Regions from separate parts of the Homo sapiens genome. Here regions 2 and 3 are each linked to region 1. Evidence: promoter capture Hi-C in human tissues and cell types (Jung and others, 2019). All regions are on one chromosome and are shown on one strand. Each heading gives the region's core, a stretch centred on a gene start or on the middle of the fragment in contact. The rest is flanking DNA. Distances are from core to core; before and after follow the strand shown. Region 1 holds the start of SYNDIG1L (synapse differentiation inducing 1 like). Region 2 overlaps VSX2 (visual system homeobox 2). Region 3 overlaps ABCD4 (ATP binding cassette subfamily D member 4).

Region 1 (4,817 bases), core at 1,123-3,622:
CCCTGGCCCTTTGTTACTCACAAGAGATGGTGGTGGTGGTGGTGGTGGTGGTGGCAGGGATAATGGGGTGGTGGTTCCTGGCCTCTGGGCTTGGAGGCAGGAGCCCCTCTCAGTTCAGTCATTCTGAGTCACACTTATGGCTTTCCCAGAGAAATAAGAGAGGGGGTTCTTAAGAAAACATCAGAAATATAAATGGCTTTTTCTGGTTCCTATTGCTCACTTTCACTCCATTCATAAAATCCAGTTCATTACTAAAAGGTCATTAACTTTGTTGTCAAACCAGGTTGATAAAGCCGGCATCCTGTATTCAAGCAGAATTGAGGGGTTTATGGGTTTAGGACAGCCTCAGAAAGCCCTACAGAATATCAGGGCTTGAAATCTTAACTCATCTAGCCCAACTCTCTTCTTTTACAGATGAGAAAAATGAACCCCCAGAGGGGAATGGACCTGCCTGAGACAGCGGCGGATCTGTGACCAGAACACAGGGCTTCTGACTCCCAGTTAAATGCTTTTATTCTGATACACTTTAACATTTCATTCCCTCATTTTACACCCGATTACCGAGTCCTTACTATCTTCCAGGTGCTGTTGGGGAGGGGGTCATGAAGGGGGACAAAGAGATGAAAACAACACAATTCCTGCCTTCAGGGAGCTCTTTCCCTAGATCTGTGGTTCTTAGGGAGAAAAAATAAAAACCGGTGAGTCAGACTCTTACCTTATATTATCTCCTATAGGTGATGATGGAAGAGGAGAAGAAGGGAGGGCACACTTTTTTCTCCTTAAGGTTTATAAGTTTGGCTTCACTGATTCTGGGACCCCACGGTGGCCAAGGACAAAGGGAGACATGGCCATGCTGGGAGAAGAGGGGGTAGGGGTGACAATAATCAGGTCACTGACAGCAGGCCTGGCTAGGGGTTGGGAACAGTGACAGCAGCGCACACTGGTATGGAGATGTACAGGTGGCAAGCCTCCAATCAGGTGCATTGTTTTTCATTGGGCCCCAAGGCAGTTCCCTGAGGTGAGCAGAGCGGTGACCTTATCCCCACTCCAGGGGTGAGGAGGATGAGGTTGAAAGAGCTTAGGGAACTAGCTAAAGCCAGTAAATGCCAGCACCCAGCCAGGAACTCCTACTCTAGTGCTCTTTCTACCCCTGGGGGTAGGGAAGTTGTGTTGGGTTGGAGGGTGGGGATAAAGCAGTAGAAAGAAGTGGTCAGCCACAAGGGTAGGCCAATTCTTCCTCCACGCAGTTTTATTTTGATCGCTACATTCTGCCAGTCATAGAGAACTCTGCTCTGAAGAACTAGAAGCACTTTGCAGGCCTGAATGAGCTCATTCAGCGCACTCTTGCCAGAAAGAGAGAGAACTCCTAATGGAGGCTCTGTCTAGGGTCACCAGCACATAATAGAAAACAGGACCCAGGTTCCCTGACTCTTTGCCCTCATGCGCCAAGAGATGTGATGCAAATCCTGCCTGCTTCTGTGAGCGTCAAGAGTGTCATAGGAAAAAAAATTGAGGTATCTTCCAGGACCTCCTTCCTTCCCTGAAGAAATGGGTTAATCCATCCTAAGGGGCCTTGGCCCAAGAGCCAATCCCTTGGCCCAAGAGCCATTTCCAGGGCAGAGAAATCTCAGAGCAGGGGGTACCACAGCCACCTCAGTCACCTGGGTGAACAGGTTTGGGTGCGAGAAGAGGGGAGCTTAGTGAAGCCTGCTCAGATTTTGCTAGTGTCGCAAAACCTTGGTGGGGACTGGGGTACCAGGGAGTCTGAGGCTCTAATCAGTATTTCTTGCCGTCAGTAGGCAGGATGTCTAGGAGCTGCCTGAGGTCAGGGTCAAGGCCTGATGTTGTGAGGTTATGGTGTCTTGACCCCAGTTCATCAGCCCCCTCCCAGCACCCCCAGCCTGCAGGATGAGGGGTAGGGAGGGACGAAGTGCAAGCCTTGGCGGAGCGCAAGGTGCGGCCAAGCAGGGAGTCAGAGCCCCTAGCCCCGAGAGGGCTCCCGTGCCCTCCCCAGCTCACTCCCCGCTCCGTGCCTAGCTCTGCGCTCCCGCGGCGCCCCCAGACCGCCCCTTACCTGTCCCGCCGCGGACGGTCCCGCCTCCTCCGCGGGGCTCGGGGGCTCGGCATGGGCCGGTGAGCGACGGCGCCCCCGCCTCGCGGTCGCGGTGGAACTCCCAGGAGGGCTCCCCTGCTCTCGTCCCCGCGTCCCTGAGCAGCCGCCGCTTCAGCACCGCGGACAGCTCCCGCCCGCAGCCCGCCGCCGCCGCCCGCCCCGCCCCGCGCGGTCCCGGGAGCCCCGCATCCTGGCCGGGCCCCGCCGCCGCCGCCGCCGCGCAGCCCTCGGCCCGGCCCGAGGCGGCTCCGCGCCGACTTGGGAGAGCAGCGAGGAGGGTCCCCCTCCTTCCCGCCTCCCGCCGCCGCCGCCTCCCTCTCGCTTCCGTGCTCCGTGCTCCCTTCCACGCTCCGGAATCAGCCCACCAGGCACTCCGGACCCGGCTCCGGGGCGGGGCGGGGCGGGAAGTCGGGGGAGCCCGGAGGAGGCGGCGAAGCGAGGGGCGCGCAGCTGGAACCCGCGTACCCGCTTCCTGGAGCCGAGCCCTCTTTCCCAGCCCTTCTCTCCCCTCCTCCCGCGCACCCCAGAGCGATGGGAGGCCCTTGGGCTTCTTGAAGCATTTTGGAGCTCCTAGGCTCCAAAGCCAGCCCTGAGTTTTTAACATTGATCTGCCCTAAAAAGAAAAACAAACAGAAAGCATTTATTGAGCACCTACTATATACCAGATACCAAGCCCGATAATGTGTTTAATCAACATAAGCTCATTTAATTTTCTTAACAACTCTATTAGGCAATATAGTGCCCCTCTTCCCCTCTTCCCCTCCCCCTGCCCCCCTCCCCCTGTCCCCCTTCCCCCTCCAATTTTGCAGACCAGGACGCTGGGCTCACAAGGATGAAATCCTGTGATTTGGAGATTCAGTGCTGTGCTGGGAAGGGCACAGGTTTTAAAGCTCATGGACCTAAGTTTTGGTCCTAGGGTCCCACTTGCTGTATAACCTCGAGCAAGTTACCTAACCTCTTAAAGCCTCAGGTTCCTCATGGACAAAGTGAGGGGTCATATGAGGACAAAATGAGATGACATACGTGACACATTGGCACTCAATAGGCACTCAGTGAGTGAGCGTCCCCCTGAGTTTTCCCAGCAAGAGCCCTGAGATCCGAATGCAGGCCTTTTGGCTGCTTTGTCTCCACCCTGTGCTGCTCTTTATCCACCTCCACCTGCGTTTCCTTTTTTTTTTTTTTTTTTGCATGGGGATGCCCTATCTTGAGTGTTACCAGTGGATGAACCTATTCTTCGAGCGCCTTCACAAGGTCTTGAGTCTCACCAAAGTCCCAGGAGGTCAGGAGGAGAGAGTATTCTCATTTTCTGAAGGTAAGTGTGGGTTTGCAAAGTAAACCACAGAGCAGGCTGCAGCTGGGGCTGGAAGACACAAGGAACCAGGGTCTGGCAGTGGGATTCCACTAGCATCCACTAGTCTCCTAGCATCCAGCTGAGGATGCTATAGCACATAGCATGGTGGACTCCAGGACTCCTTCACTCCCACAGGATGTGGGCATCTGGCACAGTTCGGTGTAGCTCCTAGAGTGCACAGTAGGAGCCAGGAGCAAGTCCACATCATGGGGCTTGGGTCTCCTTCCCTTCAAGGCAGGACAGAGAACTCCCTTATCCTGGGGTCTGTCTCAGGGCTGGTATTGGTGTTTAACTTGTTGGGTGCTAAATATATTATTGCTCTTCCTGTCTCTGCCCCATTAGTGGATAATGCAGTGAGAAGCCCCCTGAGGCCAGCAAGGGTCTTGGACCACTCATCTCAGGCCCATACTTCATCTTCACAGACACCCTCCTCCTCAAAACACAGACATACAGACACACACACAACACAGACACACATAGACACACACAGACACACACACAAGACATTGTCTCTGATGTCAGGCCACCCTCCTGTACCTTTGCTTTCTCTGGCCTTCCTCTCACAGGGGCTCATGGCCACCTACTTGGCCTTGGCCTCCCTCTGCTGCTCCCCTCCCCACCCTGGCTGTGCTCCATGCCTGGGCTGCATACTGAAATACTAATTGAAAGGATAATAAAAAAGCCAGTGAAGCAAAAGCCGCATATAAATTCTAAATACTAATGTTGATAATTACATGCTGCTGCCTGGAGGGAAAACTCAAAGAGAGGCTGTTGGTGTTGTATCAAGGGCCCTGGCCTGGTGCCAGGAGACCCAGGTTCTAGTCTCGCCTTTGTCATTAATTGGCTGTGCGACCTTAGGCAGTCGCCTAATCTTCCTGGGCCTTTGCTTTCTTATAATTCAATAGCTCTGAAGAAACTATAAGTGCAATCAGCAATGTATGATGCTTGTGACAGAGAACAGTGGGTAATGCAGTGATAAGAATTTCTTCCCGGGAAACTAACCTTTACCTCTCACAAGGTACAGGGGTGGCTTAGGGACTGAAGAATCTACAACCATGCAAAGTTTCCATTCTTTTTCCATTCTCTCTTTATCCCTCCCTTCCTTTTTCCATCAAGCATTTCCTGCCATGTAATGAAAATCAACCCCTCTGTTAGACACCAAGAATGGAAAGTATAAACCATTGTCCAGGCCTTTGAAGGAGCTGCAATGAAGGGGATGCGGTCCATAGACATGTTGACCAGCAATTCCAACACCTTGTGATAAATGCTGTCATGGAGTAAGTGAAGAGTGCCAGAGAAGAAAACAACTCACCCTGCCTGGGGAAGTCCCAGGAGGCTTCCTGGAGAAGGTCT
Region 2 (4,817 bases), core at 610-3,109, 160 kb before region 1:
ACTTCTAGGTATTCGAAACCTGTGATTTCTGTGCCATTTTCTGTAAAGATACAAGTAAGAATAAAATTGACTTAAAAATAGTAGGGGAGAAATCCAGGAGTCCACTGTGGGTGGGGAATGGTTTGTGTTCCGTGTGTATGGGTGGCATAAAAAGTAAATCTACGGCTGGGTGCGATGGCTCATGCCTGTAATCTCAGCACTTTGGGAGGCCTAGGTGGGCAGATCACTTGAGGTCAGGAGTTCGAGACCAGCCTGGCTAACATGGTGAAACCCTGTGTCTACTAAAAATATAAAAAGTAGCCAGGGGTGGAGGCACACTCCTGTAATCCCAGCTACTCAGGAGGCTGAGGCAGGGGGATTGCTTAAACCCGGGAGGTTGAGGGTGCAGTGAGCTGAGATCATGCCATTGCACTCCAACCTGGGCAACAGAGCAAGACCCTGTCTCGAAAAAAAAAAGTAAATCTACAAGTTGATATTTTAGGTCAAAATTACTGGGTTCCTTTTTTAAAAAATTACTCTAATTGTAGAGGTACAAGTGGCCTACGTCTCTCCACTGAGCCGATACCACCCTTCAATGACATTCGTCACTGTGACATGGGATTGGCCTCCATGATCGACACAACCTAAATGTCCCAACGATCCATAGTTCTTACCTCTGACTCCCTCCTACTCCCCACATAGTAGTCGGCATTTGCCTCTCTCCTTGGTACTGACTTACTGATAACCCTGTTTCCTACTGCCCTCTGCGGAAGCTCACAGCCCACCTTGGCCCCCAAGAGAACTCCCTTCCTTTTGTGCACACCTGTGCCCTTCCACATCTTACCCTCAACCTAAACAACAACAAACGAAAGAGGTAACAGTATCTGGAGTTGAAAGCCAGACAGATTATGCTAAATCCGTGTCAAAGGGAAGGAGAGTCAAAGAGAAACAGCTCGAGGAAGACCATATGAAATTGTCTACTGACAGCTGTGACCCACCGACTTGATGATGTGATGGATGGAATTACGAGATGAGAGAGCGGGGTGAGCAGATGAGATAGGCTGTATTTGAGATTTGGGCCCAAGAAATCTCGTAAGATTGTTTCAAATTGGCTTAGATGTGAACTCCCTCGTGGATGAGGTTTCTGGCAGCCCATCAGCGAAGGAGAATGACAGGAGGTCAGCAGTCCTAATACCCTGGATTGGACCCAGATGTGGTCCTCGCAGACCAGGACCCTGAGGGGCACATGTGGGAAATCTCCAGCTCCTGTGTGGGGATGGGAAAGAGCCATGAGCCTGGCTTCAAGTCCTGCCGTGCCAGGCTGCTCCCAGGCCTTCCCCGGCATGTCAGCTCCTGCAGGATTCATCCTCGGTCTGGGAATGTCTTTCTCCAACCCTCCAGGAAGTAAACCACTTGTCAACCTTCCAGTCCCCTCCCCTCCGAAGCCCTCCTGACCTTCCAGGAAGAGTGTATTTATTTGCTGATTTATTTATTTTTGAGACAGGGTCCTGCTGTTGCTCAGGCTGGAGTGCAGTGTTGTGATCATGGCTCACTGCAGCCTTGAGCTCTCAGATCAAGGTGCCCTCCCAACTCAGCCTGCCGAGTAGCTGGGACTACAGGTGTGCATCATGCTGGCTGATTTTTAGTAGAGATGAGGTCTCACTATGTTGCCCAGGCTGGTCTTGAACTCCTGGGCTTAAGCAATCCTCCCACTTCAGCCTCCCAAAGTGCTGGGATTACAGGAATGAGCCACTGCGCCCAGCCAGCAAGTTTATAACCTCTGTTCTCTGACAGCACTTGGGACATTCCTGATTATGGCATTTTCCACGTTGTGTTGTAATTTTTTTTTTTTTTTGGAGATGGAGTCTCACTCTGTCGCCTAGGCCGGAGTGCAGAGGCAGGATCTCGGCTCACTGCAACCTCCGCCTGCTGGGTTCAAGGAATTCTCCTGCCTCAGCCTCCTGAGTAGCTGGGATTATAGGTGCGTGCCACCATGCTGAGCTAATTTTTGTATTTTTAGTAGGGACAGGGTTTCACCATGTTGGTCAGGCTGGTCAGGCTGGTCTTGAACTCCTGACCTCGTGATCTGCCTGCCTTAGCCTCCCGAAGTACTGGGATTATGTAATTTTTTTATTTACAAGTCTATCTTTCCCATAAGACGGATTTCTTCAAGGGTGGCACTACATCTTCTTCTTCTTTTATCCCAGGACCCATCAAAGGGCCTGACCCTCAATCCATTATTGAATGCACAGATGAATGTTCTGCCTATAATTCATCATTTATTCAATAATTTAAAAATAATGACTGAGCATTTAATATGTATCAGGCAGTGGGGCAAGGCACTGGGGATATAGTAGTAGGCAAAGCAGTCCCAGATTCCCTGTTTTTTTTTTTTCTTTTTGAGACAGAGTCTTACTCTGTCACCCAGGCCAGAGTGCAGTGGCACAATCTCGGCTCACTGCAACCTTCGCCTCCTGGGTTCAAGCAATTCTACTTCAGCCTCCTGAGTAGCTGGGATTACAGGCATATGCCACCACATCTGGCTAAATTTTTGTATTTTTCATAGAGATGGGGTCTCGAACTCCTGACCTCAAATGATCTGCCTGCCTTAGCCTTCCAAAGTGCTGGGATTATAGGTGTAAGCCACCGCGCCTGGCCCCAAGTTCCCTGTTCTCATGGCACTTACAGTCTGGAGGGAAAGACAGCATTTAAGTAACCATACAAATAAAATATAAAATTGCAAATGTCCTGTGAACTTGGAGGCATGCTGTAAGAAACCGTGAAAGCATCTAATAGGATGACCTGACCATCTGTGGGCCTTGGGCCGGGGTGTTTACCCTCTCTCTGTGTTATAAAATGGAAGAGTAACATCTGCTCCGCCCGTTGTGGCGTAGAGTATCCAGGAAGAAGCGAGGACGTGGAGAAAGGCACCGTACAGCACAAAGGAAAGGTGGAGGGGCCAACGCAAGCCTCTCAAGCCCAGGGGGCATCCTTGGCAGCTGCCCCACCCTCGGGTAGGCCTAGGGGACAACTGGGACACTCAGAGCCTTGGGAGATAGCAGAAATCCTCTTGGACGATCACCTCAGGGGATTTGCCCGGAGGAGAAGCAAGCAGCTCTCTGCACAAGGAAATGCAAATAGGTTTACAAGTAATCGATGAGGGGAGAGGCTGGACAGGAAAGGAAGGCCTGGATGGCCAGGCCCAAATGAGGCAGAACAAAGAGAGAAGTCCTGTTAGGTGGGATTGTACCCCAGGAGTGTCTTCTTCCCTCTGACCCTGACACCTGGCTCCTGGAAGGGAGATTTTATTCCAGGTTCTGCTGGGCTAACAGGCTGCCAAGAGATGGCTGCGTGCCCCAAGAAGAGCAGCAGAGAGCTACAGGGGCAGGAGGGGCTGGTTCATGAGGATTGCGGGTGCTGGTGAGCAGGCCTGGCAGGGAAAGATGAGGAGGAGTCTGGCTGGGAGTGGGAGAGTGGCAAGCAGGGCTGGTGACAGTGGGGGAGTTTCTGAGGCCAGTCCTATGGCCTGGAGAGAGCAGCTGCTGCAAGAAAGAGGGACTCGATCTCAGGGATCGCTGGGACCTTGGTCCCAGCCTCCTGCTGGCCCTCCAGCCTCTTGTGTCTCCTGCACCCAACAGCTCACTGGGGCCTTGAAGTCTTTCTCCTACTGCAGTGCCTTCCCCACCTCTCTTCAGAGTGTGGAGCTGAGGCAGCCTGGCCCATCAATTTCAACAGAGGTACCATACTAATATCGATGTCAATAAGAGGCAACGCTGGGTGAGGGGGTGTCTTAGTCTATTTTGTGTGGCTATAACAGAATACCATGGACTGAGTAATTTATAAAGAAAAGAGAGACTGGTGTGGTGGCTCACACCTGTAATCCCAGCACTTTGGGAGGCTGAGGTGGGTAGATCACTTGTGGCCAGGAGTTCGAGACCAGCCTGGCCAACATGGTGAAACCCCATTTCTAGGAAAAATACAAAAATTAGCTTGGCGTGGTGTATGCCTATAGTCCCAGCTACTCAGGAGGCTGAGGCACAAGACTTGAGCTTGGGAGGCAGAGGTTGCAGTGAACCAAGATTGCACCACTGCACTCTAGCCTCGGCAATGGAGCCAGACCCCAGCTCAAAAAAAAAAAAAAAGAAAAGAAAAGAAAAGAAATTTATTTCTTACAGTTCTGGAGGCTGGAAAGTCCAAGGTTGAGGGACTGCATCTGGTGAGTGTCTTCTTGCTGCGTCACAACATGGTGGGAGATAAAAGGGCACAAGAGCATGTGTTAGAGAACAAGAGGGGGCCGACTTTGCTTTTATAACAGGCCTACTACCATGATAATGTTAATCCATTCTCCCTTATGACCTCATCAGCTATTAGGACCCACCTACTAACACTGTCGCACTGCAGATTGTGTTTCCAACACATGAACGTGGAGGAACACATTCAAACTACAGCAGGGGGTTATGAGGTCTCTGTACTATGGACCTGGAAACTCTGTACTATCTTCACAATTTTTTTTGTAAATCTAAAATTGTAAAAATAAAGCTTACTTTTAGGCCGGGTGTGGTGGTTCACGCCTGTAATCCCAGCACTTTGGAAGGCTGAAGCAGGTGGATCATTTGAGGTCAGGAGTTTGAGACCAGCCTGGGCAACACGGCAAAACCCTGTCTCTACTAAAAATACAAAAATTAGCTGGGCGTGGTGGCCGGTGCCTGTAATCCCAATTATTTGGGAGGCTGAGGCGGGAGAATCCCTTGAACCCGGGAGGCAGAGGTTGCAGTGAGCCAAGATCGTGCTACTGCACTCCAGCCTGGGCGATGGAGTAAGACTCTGTCTCAAAAAAA
Region 3 (4,817 bases), core at 443-2,942, 130 kb before region 1:
GAAAGGCTGGGATGTCCACAGGGCTGGAGAGGTTCAGCCAGGTTGGGGGGCCGCCTGTCCCATATCACACCCTCCTTTAGAAACCAAGGCCATTCAAATGATCTTGGTCTCAGGATCTGTCTACTGGTAGCGCCCATTCACGGCTTCAGTCATGCCTTAATGGTATTGTCTGTGTGAAGAACATAAACTCTAGAGTTGGGCAGACCTAGTTCAAATCCTGGCTCTGGCCAGTTACTAGCTGCGTGACACAGGCAGGCTACTTAAGCCTCCAAGCCTCAGTTTTTTTAATCTATAAAATGGAGCCAATAATACCTATGTAATAGGTTAGAGTTAGAATTAAAAGTTTCTAAATATAAAGTGCCAAGCACATAAGGAGCCCTCAATAAATAAAAACTATTGTTAAATAAACATACACAGAGCGGTCACTAGGTGTACCAGGCATTGCACTAGTTAGCTAGTGCAATAAAGAAATGAGAAAATTATCTCTGTCTTTGAGGAGCTCTCAGTCCAGAGGGCAGGCAGGCACACTGCATTCTTCACTTGGAATCAGGAGTACTAAGTGTGCCCTCAGGGCCATGGCAGCAGATAGGCTTAGCCATTAAGGGAGTCTGGGAAGGCTCTCCAGAGGAGGTGATCTGGGGTTTCAAGGATGGGAAGAAATTCGCTAGGCAGAAAAGGTGGAGGGAGATTTCAGATTTTGCACAGAGGCCACAGAAGAACTCATCTGAAACTCTACAAACTAACCTGCCTTCCCCAGAGCTTCATGAGCAGAGGCTGCAGAATCCAAAAGCAACTTTTTTCTTTTTTTTTTTTTGAGACGGAGTCTTGCTCTGTCACCCAGGCTGGAGTGCAATGGCAGGATCTTGCCTTACTGCAACCTCTGCCTCCCGGATTCAAGTGATTCTCCTGCCTCAGCCTCCCCAGTAGCTGGGATTACAGGTGCCCGCCACCATGCTCAGCTAATTTTTTGTATTTTTAGTAGAGACAGGGTTTCACCATGTTGGCCATGGCTGGTCTCGAACTCTTGACCTCAGGCAATCCACCCGCCTCGGCCTCCCAAAGTGCTGGGATTACAGGCATGAGCCACCATGCCCGGCCTCCAAAAGCAACTTTTTTACACACCCAGCCCTGCCCACCTCACAACCCCACCCCAGCGCAGATTCCCAGTATTCTTGGTGCCCTCAAGTGGTGGAGGTTGCAAACTGCAGCAGAGACTGAGGAGCAAAGGTCCCAGGGCTATCACATCCACCCCAAGTACAGAGCCAAGGAGTAGCTTCCACTTCTTAAACGCAAACCTCTGCCTGCACTATCAATCCTAACGCTGATTTCAGAGGCCTCACATAAGGCAGAGCACAGGGACCGGTTCTGGCCCTGGAGGGAAGGGATGGGATTTCATGCCGCTGCTGCTGCTCCTGCTGCTGCCGTCAGGAGACCAGACGCTTGGCTCCATTAGACAGCATTGTGGGGAGCAGGTCTCCTGGTTTTCTGAGAAGCTCCCATTCCATCCCACGCTACGGAGACAAAGGATCAGGCTTGAACCTCAGGCACTGGCAAGAAAGCTTCTTAACAGACAGAAGAGCAGAGGCAGACGGATGTCTTACAGTCACCAGCAAGAGGATGAGGCATTCATTCATTTGACAATTTCAGGCCCCACGCTAGGCCACTAAGACTAAAGCTGGCCACAGTAAGGAACCACCAGCTTCAGAAGCAAACCCCTGGACCTAAGGATGAGGCAGGCAAGGGCAGGGGGAGGTAGAGGGAGAGGGTCACAGCCAAGTGTGACAACACTCAGCCCCTGAGCTCGGTGGTGGTGGGAGGGTTGAGGATTCATCTTTCCTTCTCCACTCTCAGCTCTGGCAAGGCAGAAGGGGAACCATCTCTCCAGACTCACCTGTAGAAAGCAGCAGGCTCCGCATTCACCCGAATCTGCATGTGCTTGAACCTGGGCGGACCAAAGGGAAATGTGTGCTGACAACAGGGAGTACTGGCCTCACTCTTGTTGGAGTCCTGGATCACAAAGACCGCCCAAGCGGAGCCCGGCTCTGCCTCAAAACCGTGGCTGCCTCAGTCTGACCCTTTCCTGGACTGTTATGGGGTAGAAAACCCCAGGGCTAGGTGGTGTGGCAGGAGCTCTGCAGAGACAGGGCTGCCCCTCAGCTTTCTGCAGAGAGGACAGGGGTATTCCTGCTCACAGCATCTCCTCCTCCCAGGGCCTGGCCCAAAGGAGGGGGACAAGAAGCACAGGGCAGGCACTGGATCCATTGGCTGCCACACCCAACTGATCCAAGACAGGGCGGTTATGCCAGGGCAGTGAGAAGGCCAAGAGATGACAATGACGATGGTGATGGCCAGGCAGACACGGTTCTCAGACCTTCTCAGGTATGATTTCATTAATCCTCCTAATCCTCTCAGTAGGCAACGGTACCATTTCCACTTTAGAGACAAGAACATTGAAGCTTGGAGAGGTTAAAGACCTCTCCAAGATCACACAGCTAGTAACTGGCACAGCTAGGATTTGAACTTAGGCAGTTTTACTCCAGATCCCCTTCCTTAACTATTATGCCCCAGCCCAGAAACCTCAAGTGAGGGAGACACACCTAAAATCTCCCTCCAGCTTCTCCTGATGCACCAGCTTCATCACAATGGGGCCCATCAAAGTTTTGTTCACCACGGTCCCCAGGATGAAATACCCGAAGATGCTCACAGGCCCGAGCCAGCCTGTGCTGAAATAGAGAGAGAGGGAGAGAAGGGAGAGGGTGTGGGGTGCCACCTATCCCCACATGCCTCAGCCCTGACTCCTGTTCCCTCTCAGGTAGCCCCTGTCCAATCTGAGTGGCCCAATGGGCCCTCTGCTCCTATGTGGGGGCATCTGGTATGAGCTCTCAGAGCCAGGATATCTGTGACACTGCAACACAGGGCCAAAGGAAGGGCAGGGGCCTGAGCACGTGGGATGGGTGAGCACGTGGTAAGGTACGGTGGGAGAGAGGGGAAATAAGCTTCTCTTGGACCTTGACCTGGGAGAGCTGACTGAGGGCCCTCTGGGGAAACACCAGGCTGGGGAGGAGGGAGGCTTCACCTTTGGAAGCACTGGTAAGTGTAGTAGACGAGGGTGAACGGGGAGATGATGAGCTTGCTGGCCATGCTGCTGAGCTGCCGGCAGAATCGCTCCACGTCCTGGCTGATGCGCTGGTCCCTGGAGCCAATGACACAGAGTAGCTGGACCCAGGGAGATGGGCCCAAAGGTAGAGAGAACAAGAAACTTTCACATCACCTCTGCTCTTGACCTTGCCTCACAGTGCTGTGAACACTGACCCTATGGGAAGAGGGAACCAGACAAGGCTGGTTTCCTAGGGGCAACTAAATCCCAGGGCCTTTAAACAGGGTTCTAGAGAGTTGCATCTTACGGTGCCTTAGTTAATCCCCTGAAAAAGTGGGAACTGAAAGGTCCAGTACCCAGGGGCCTGAGCCAGCTCTGAGCAGAGCCAAAGAAAAACTTGAAGGTAGATGAGCTGTTTTGGATGATCAAGAAGACTATCCCCTTTATCTCAATCCTCCCAAATTTCTCTTATATAAGCCCTAGCCTGGCCCCTTTAGTTATCTGGCTGTGAAAGCTCCAGGCTGTGAGGCACACCTGTAGTCCCAGCTACTCAGGGGGCAGAGGCAGGATGGAAGCCATAGCCATCAGAAAGAGGCCTAGAAGTTAGGCAGCAGCAGCAGCCTCCCACGCATCTTTGCACCAAAGCTAAGCTTGAGCTGAGAGGTACCCCAACCAACAAAGTGCTTGCTAGGAAGGTGGTGAGTGAGGGGATGGGTGTGAAGGAGACCCCCTATGTCTCATCTCACCACTAGGGCCATACTGATTCCTATTCCCAATGAGTGACGTGACCTTGGGCAAGTCACTTGCAATCTCTGGGCTTCAGCTTCCTCATCTGTAAAATAACAATAGCTAACTTACACTGAAACACTTGCTATGTGTCAAGCACTGTACATGTGCATTACATGAATGATATTTCATCCTCACTACACCCTTTGAGATAGGAACTATTATTGTCCTCATTTTACAGAAGGGGAACCTGGGGCTTGGTGACTTTAAGAGTTATAACCTGAGTGGTGATAGAATGGAGATGTGAATCCTAGACTGAGTCCTGGATAGTGGTAATTTTTTTTACTGATGAAAATCTAAGAGCTGGTTTTTCTAGCAAGGACATTTTCTTTAGAACCCTCTAAAGAAACCCCTTAGTCTTCTTACTGGAAGACTAAGATATAAAGTATGAAAAGGACAAAAGAAAGCTGCTCCTAACATTTTTCTTTTTTTTAAGAGATGGGGGTTTCTGCTATGTTGCCCAGGCTAGAGTACAGTGGCTATTCCCAAGTGTGCTCACGGTGCACTACTCCTGGGCTCAAGTGATCCTCCTGCCTCAGCCTCCTGAGTTGTTGGGACTACAGGTGCATGCCACTGCACCTGGCAGGCTTCTTCTTTTTAGCTGCCTATTCACAGCCCTGCAGCTTCTCCAGGAGTCCTCTGCAGGGCACCCTCCCCCATGACTCTGGGCAGCAGCATTTGAAAACGACTGCAGATGATCTCCTTGGTGTCTGCCACCAGCAGTCTCCAGGGCTAGGCCAGAAGGAAAGGACCACACAGAGTGTAGAAAGGACTGAGTTGGGGCGCCTACGGGTTATCGATGTCATCCCGCAGCACGTTGAGGGTGTAGTACGCACGGCCCCGGAAGTAGAGGCGGTGAAGGTGCTCAGTGAGGTCCTTCCTCCAGCTCACATACAGCAGGTTGCAGGTGAACTGATCAAAGCTCTTCAGCTGT

The links. Contacts are between HindIII fragments. The study calls those that stand out against the background at their distance.
Region 2: a fragment that was not itself captured here is called in contact with the fragment with the promoter of SYNDIG1L in region 1 in 3 of the 25 tissues and cell types used here (H1 embryonic stem cells, mesendoderm cells and thymus).
Region 3: a contact is called between a fragment that was not itself captured here and the fragment with the promoter of SYNDIG1L in region 1, in 3 of the 25 tissues and cell types used here (H1 embryonic stem cells, lymphoblastoid cells and mesendoderm cells).

What each region holds. Positions count from the first base shown.
Region 1 is chr14:74,423,838-74,428,654 of GRCh38, forward strand. It overlaps SYNDIG1L (synapse differentiation inducing 1 like), which reads right to left and starts at 2,373. Exons shown (of 4, transcript NM_001105579.2): 1 at 2,075-2,373. The HindIII fragment of the contact is 14,133 bases long and covers 1-4,817 here.
Region 2 is chr14:74,262,659-74,267,475 of GRCh38, forward strand. It overlaps VSX2 (visual system homeobox 2), which reads left to right. Exons shown (of 5, transcript NM_182894.3): 5 at 1-80. Among named protein-coding and RNA genes, the nearest start is that of VSX2, 26 kb to the left of the region's middle. RefSeq lists an enhancer at 2,871-3,371. The HindIII fragment of the contact is 8,384 bases long and covers 1-4,817 here.
Region 3 is chr14:74,293,257-74,298,073 of GRCh38, forward strand. ABCD4 (ATP binding cassette subfamily D member 4) reads right to left here. Exons shown (of 19, transcript NM_005050.4): 4 at 4,674-4,813; 5 at 3,077-3,193; 6 at 2,598-2,723; 7 at 1,892-1,942. Among named protein-coding and RNA genes, the nearest start is that of ABCD4, 7.3 kb to the right of the region's middle. The HindIII fragment of the contact is 3,358 bases long and covers 14-3,371 here.